Linked DNA regions of Homo sapiens: region 2 is linked to region 1. Evidence: promoter capture Hi-C in human tissues and cell types (Jung and others, 2019). All regions are on one chromosome and are shown on one strand. The core of a region is centred on a gene start or on the middle of the fragment in contact, and the rest is flanking DNA. Distances in the headings are between cores, read along the strand shown. Region 1 holds the start of ZNF732 (zinc finger protein 732). Region 2 has its middle 8.5 kb from the start of ZNF595.

Evidence for each region. Contacts are between HindIII fragments. The study calls those that stand out against the background at their distance.
Region 2: a fragment that was not itself captured here is called in contact with the fragment with the promoter of ZNF732 in region 1 in 2 of the 25 tissues and cell types used here (dorsolateral prefrontal cortex and mesendoderm cells).

Annotation. Positions count from the first base shown.
Region 1 is chr4:303,779-306,806 of GRCh38, reverse strand. It overlaps ZNF732 (zinc finger protein 732), which reads left to right and starts at 1,333. Exons shown (of 4, transcript NM_001137608.3): 1 at 1,333-1,499. The coding sequence starts at 1,497. The HindIII fragment of the contact is 17,523 bases long and covers 1-3,028 here.
Region 2 is chr4:43,415-46,285 of GRCh38, reverse strand. No RefSeq gene overlaps it. Among named protein-coding and RNA genes, the nearest start is that of ZNF595, 8.5 kb to the left of the region's middle. The HindIII fragment of the contact is 4,756 bases long and covers 1-2,871 here.

The DNA.
Region 1 (3,028 bases), core at 84-2,583:
CCCAGGTGTAATAAATCAACCTAAATGTCATTAACTTGACCCAGCTCCTTATAATGTTACCTAACATGACATAAGTATTTTGGTTTTAGCTTCACCCTTTCCACCTGCTGTGGGTTTCGCTTGGGCACTCATGGGTAATAACCAAGACGGAGTCACTGTGGTCAATCCCAGGCATGCTCAGATGCAACACTGTTATAGGGGAACTTTACCCCTCCCATTTGGGCAGAGCCCACAGAAGACTTCCTTGTTCTTGCCATATAAACTCAGCCCCATTTCTGGCACCCTGCTTTCATGTCCCCTCTTACTGCTGAGAGCTTTCCCTATGCTTAATAAATCCTATTCTGCTTTACTCACTCTCTGGTGTCTGTATGTCTTATTCTTCCTGGTCATGGGAAGAGAGCCCAGACGTGGTTGAACTGAGGAGACCACCACACTGGTACCAAACAGCAAGGGGGAGACAGTGATCTTCACGTGGACACTCTCAGCTTGCAGCCCCTGCTCTCTCTAGGGGCACTGTCCTACCCATCCTTCATCCTGAGGAGAAAAGTTGGTAGAGAGGCTGGTCCCTTACTTCCAGTAGAAAAGACGTGTTCAGGCCCTCACTTTCTTGAGGTCAGAGCCCTCATGGCTGTACTCGATGTGGCAGCCACCAGACATATGTAGCTACTGAGTACCTGGAATGTGGCTGGTTTGAGGTAAAATGTGCTGCAAACATAAAATACACAGTGAGTTTAGACGAATTAAATCAGAAATATACTTTATTTCTAATTATATATTGATCACATATTGAAACAATATTTTGGATACAATAGGTTAAAATATAAACAATTTCACTTGTTTCTTTTTATTATTTTTGATGTGGCTAATAAAAAATTGAAAATTCACAAATAGCTAACATTTTATTTTTTAAAGGATTGCTTCCCCCTTAAAATCCTACTCAAAAGACCAGAGGACAGAGAGGTTATGAAATCTAAAATATTAAAATAATTGTCATTATATTGTTTCCATTTGTGAACAAGTGTGTGTCTGTGTGTGTGCGCGCGCGTACGTACACAATTTATAAATGGGCGTAACCTTACACACCAGAAGGTTAAAAATGAACCCCCAACAGAGCCAAGCCTAGCACAGAAAGCCCTGACTGAAAATACCTGGAGGCACGAGTCTGTCTCTCTTGCCTCATTAAGTGCACTGTGTGGTGGCAAGTTCTGTCACTCAAATTCTGAGCGTGGGGAGCTTGGTATCTTATCCAATCAGAGCGCTGGATTGAGAACTGCCCAATCAGGCGCGCAGCCGGAGAGGAGGGGGCGGCATCCGGGATCTGGCGCGGCTTTTGCCTTTTGCGCCAGCGTGAGCTCGGTTAGGGTCTCCACGGCCGTGCTTTCACCCCTCAGGGAGGCGTCGGTGATTCGGTCACAGCCTCAGCCTCCGTCGCTCTGTGACCTGCGGGTATTGGATGATTCGTAGCTGAGACTCCGCTACACCCCTGAAGTGGGGAAATGGTGAGTGTGGGGGCAGGGCGTCCCAAGGCTGGGGAGGCCTCATCCGAACCGGCGGGAAATGGCGGCGGCGGGACGGAGTCTGCGAACGGAGTCTCCGCTGCCGCCGCTCAGCCCTCAGTCCTTGGTCCCTTCCGGTGAGGGACCCGGGTTCATGTCGGTCCCCGCAAGGCGGCTTTGGCCCAGCCTGCAGCCCTACTTGTGCAGCTCTGCGCCCGCAGCCCCGCACCTTCCCTGGGCTGTGGGGTGAGGAGGAGCTCATCGGGAAAACGCCTGCGTGGCGTGCGAGGTGCCCGCCTGGGAGGAGCTGTGGTCCGGTCGTCGAGTCCCTACTTTACCCTGTTCGGAATAAGATCGAGGCCCTATCAAAACATAGAGTTCATGTGAGCAAATGGGGACTAATTAATGGGACAGCCCCGGGCATGGCTTGTGGTTTGGGGGCTGCCAGCGGGTCTTGAAGGAAAAGCTTTTGTGAGGTGTGTGAGGAAGCGAAGCAAATCACCCGCCCGCTCCAACTTGCCCACCAGTCCCCTTGCCCTGTGCGCCTCCTCCGCGTGGCTGTTCCTGAGTGGCATCTTTTAGAATACGCTGGTGTGGGCGCGCACAGCGCTTCGCTGAGTTCTGTGAGTAGTTCTGCCACATTATTGAACTTGAGGAGGGTGTGGGCGCCCCTGGTTTGTAGGCAGGCGTTCAGAAATGAAGACGGGTGTCCAGAGGCAGGGACTGCCGTCTGCAGGGGGGGGGCAGCTGCGGGAAGAGCGCTGAGCTTGTGGGGTCTTCGCTGACTCTGGGTGGTGTCGTTAGTGAGTTGCTGGACACCGCGTTGGGGTTGGAGCATTGACTGATGTTGAGCAAACTCCGCACGTTTTCTGTCAGAAGAAAGACATGGCTGAGCCTGGGCTGGAGAAAGATGCCTGGTGTCTGCGGGAGGCGCGGCCGGGTTCTGCACATGTGCTGTCCCGCTGGGCACTGTCCTTTTCCTCCAGGTCTCCTTCCGGGGAGAGAAGGGACTGGGAACTTAGAGGAAAGGAGTTCTGAGAAACATCCCTTCCCTGCACCCTGCTGCCAGCCCCCACTTAATGCTAACCCACTCCCGAGGACGCTCACTGGCCATTCGCATTGCCACACTCCTCCCAGGACAGGGTTCTACCCTCAGGAATTGTGCCCGTGACAGCTTTGCTCCTAGGGTATTCTGCCAATAACACACACAGTGCCAGGAAGACTCCTGGCTCATTTCAACCCCAGACACTGGATCTATAGCAGGAACCTGTTTCCTTCCCCCACCCAGGCTTCTGGACCACCTGATCCTAATCTCCTCTGCCTTTATGGACACATGAATCAGTCAGATGGTAACCCTGCCTAGACCTGCACTTGTAGCACAAACTAGTCTTTTATTTAGTCAGTCCTGCCCTGTCCCCACCATGACTCTTGATAGCTCCTTTCTCTCTTCTGCTTTTTTCTTCCTCACAAATCTTATTTCCTGTGCACACAGTGTGCCCAAGTCCATCCCTCACTTGCCTGCGAGAATTCAG
Region 2 (2,871 bases), core at 255-2,754, 260 kb after region 1:
AGCCTCCTGAGTAGCTGGGATTACAGGTGTCCGCCACTACACCCGGCTAATTTTTGGTATTTTTAGTAGAGAAGGGGTTTCACCATGTTGGCCACACTAGTCTCAAACTCCTGACCTCAGGTGATCCACCTGCCTCGGCCTCCCAAAGTGTTGGGATTACAGGCGTGAGCCACCACTCCCAGCCAAGGATTTCATTTCTGTAGGTACCATCGGCTTTCTCACTTCTCCCTATCTGTTGAACATGTTCCACATTTTTTCCCGCAGCCTTTTCACCAAATCATAACCCAGGAGAATGGTGAAGGCACAGAGAGTGATAAGCTGCTTCATGACAATCTTCATTTCAGAACTAAAAGCAAAAACTGCACTATTTAGGTATCTGTGAGTTGTGAACGTTCTGTCTATGAGTTACAACTGTCTATTTTAACTTAGAAGACTCAATCTTCAAAATTAATAATTACTTTTTAGATGTATACAAAAGTAAAATATTCCAGCATTTTGGGAGGCCGAGTGTGCAGGGGTGGATCACTTGAGTTCAGGGATTCAAGACCAGCCTGACCAACATGGTGAAACCCTGTCTCTACTAAAGAAGTACAAAATTAGCCGGGCCTGGTGGTGTACTCTGGTAATCCCAGCTACTTGGGAGGCTGAGGCAGGAGAATTGCTTAAACCTGGGAGGCAGAGGTTGCAGTGAGCTGAGATCATGCCATTGCATTCCAGCCTGGGCAACAAGAACAAAACTTTGTCTCAAAAAAAAAAAAAAGTAAAATATTGTCCTTAATTTTTATCTTATAAAACTATATTATATTCTATAAACAGTCACATAAATTAATTTTTCTTCAGCCATGTTAAAATGTACTATTGTTTTCACGTCTTAAGAAAGAATAAGTATGGACACAAGAGTTTGTTTTCCTTTTCCAGACTTAAGATTTGTGATATAAAAGTTAACTGAAGTGAGAGCGTTTCAACTGGGTTTCCACATCATTTTCCACAGTGGAATCATCTGAGGCATAGAATTCAGTGCACCCACACATAGCTTTGAAATATAGTCCTCTGACTATGTCTGGAGAATATGCCAAGCTTTCCAACAGCAAGCAAGACTGAGGCATCAGCATAGAGATTAGGCCTGGCTGAAGAGCTCTTGAAATACGTGTGCCTTATACAAAACACCTGGGAATGTCAGACACCATGGTATAAAAATCACCAAAGTAATTAGGCCAGTGACTGTGTCATTGATTGTAACTACCAGTCAATGTCTAGCTAATATTTAACTAGTGGCAGCAATGAATATAACATTCAATGATAGATGGCGAGGGTAGAAAGTCTGCTCTCCAAAGAATGTCATCCTTTTCTCAATTCAGAAAAGTCCCTCAATTGCATTTTTCTCAGCTGCTTATACATAATTCAAATCTACTCTCTCGTATGTCTTATGTCACAAGCAATCACAAATGCAGTTATAGTCAAATTGAAAAGAAACTTGGAGTTGGTAGATCTGGGTTCAAATTTCACCTCTGCCACTTATTATGTGTAGCCTTGATGGGGTTCAGTTCCTTCTTCTGTAAGAAAGGGTTAATACCTACCTCATAGAATTGATGTGTTTTAAATATAGTTGAGCATTCACATAAAGAGGTTTTTGAAATTTTCTTCACTTTTCCGTAAGTTATAGCCAACTCATCTTTTTGTTCCAGTTTCTCCCTCATGATATTTGGTATATATGGCTTCCAATGGTGACTGCTTTAAAGGCTGGTGTACATTCAAATGCATATACATGTTCTTGTGTTAAATTTTTAAAAACCAAACTCCTGTCCAGGCGCAGTGGCTCACGCCTGTAATCCCAGCACTTTGGGAAGCCAAGGCAGGCGGATCACCTGAGGTCGGGCGTTCGAGACCAACCTGACCAACATGGAGAAACCCCATCTCTACTAACAACACAAAATTGGCTGGTCATGGTGGTGCATGCCTGTAATCCCAGCTGCTTGGGAGGCTGAAGCAGGAGAATCGCTTGAACCTGGGAGGCAGAGGTTGCAGTGAGCTGAGATGGCGCCATTGCACTCCAGCCTGGGCAACAAGAGTGAAACTCCATCTCAAAAACAAAACAAAACAAAACAAAACAAAACAAAACAAAACAAAACTCCTTTTGTTGCTTTACACCTTCTCTCACATGGTATGATATACTGATAACACCTACACTTTTTTTGGAAGTGTTTTCATATACTTCCTTTGGACCAATAAAAATGAACCTTCTGAGATGTGGAGGATATGGGCTATTACCCCAATTTTAAAGGAAAAAAAAAGTTCAGTCAGAAGTTGAATGTCCCCATGAGGAGTAACAGAGGTCATTCCTGATTAATCTAATTTAATCTTTATAATTCAAGGATCCTCCCAGCCAAAACAATCTCAGGTATCCGATTTTATGCAATTCATTTTGTGAGTAACATCACAGAAGGATTGAGTAGGATACTGGTTTAACCATGGGCATAACATTTTTTTTTTCAGTATTGAAGAGTAAAGCTAAAGTTTGTTCACTAAGATGTTTAATTCAAGCCCCAGTAACAGAGATACACAACTGCCAAAGTCAGCTCTTAGGGGTGTTGTACCAGGAGGTGGTGTAAACAGATCTGGACCCAGAGAATTAGAAAGAAAAGGCAGAATGAAGTTCACAACAGCAGCTGCTACATTTAAAAATGTTAGAGCTGTTTTACAATTATTTTCACTTCCCTAGCTTTCTGAGCCTGTAAGTCTCTCTTCCCTATTTCAACATTCATCCTAAAGAGTTTTCAATTAGTATGTGAAACCAAAAGGTCAGAGTGTTTTAGTCTGATACAAATCATCCCTAACTAAAATGATTCCAGTATGTGCTTCCATTTCATTAAA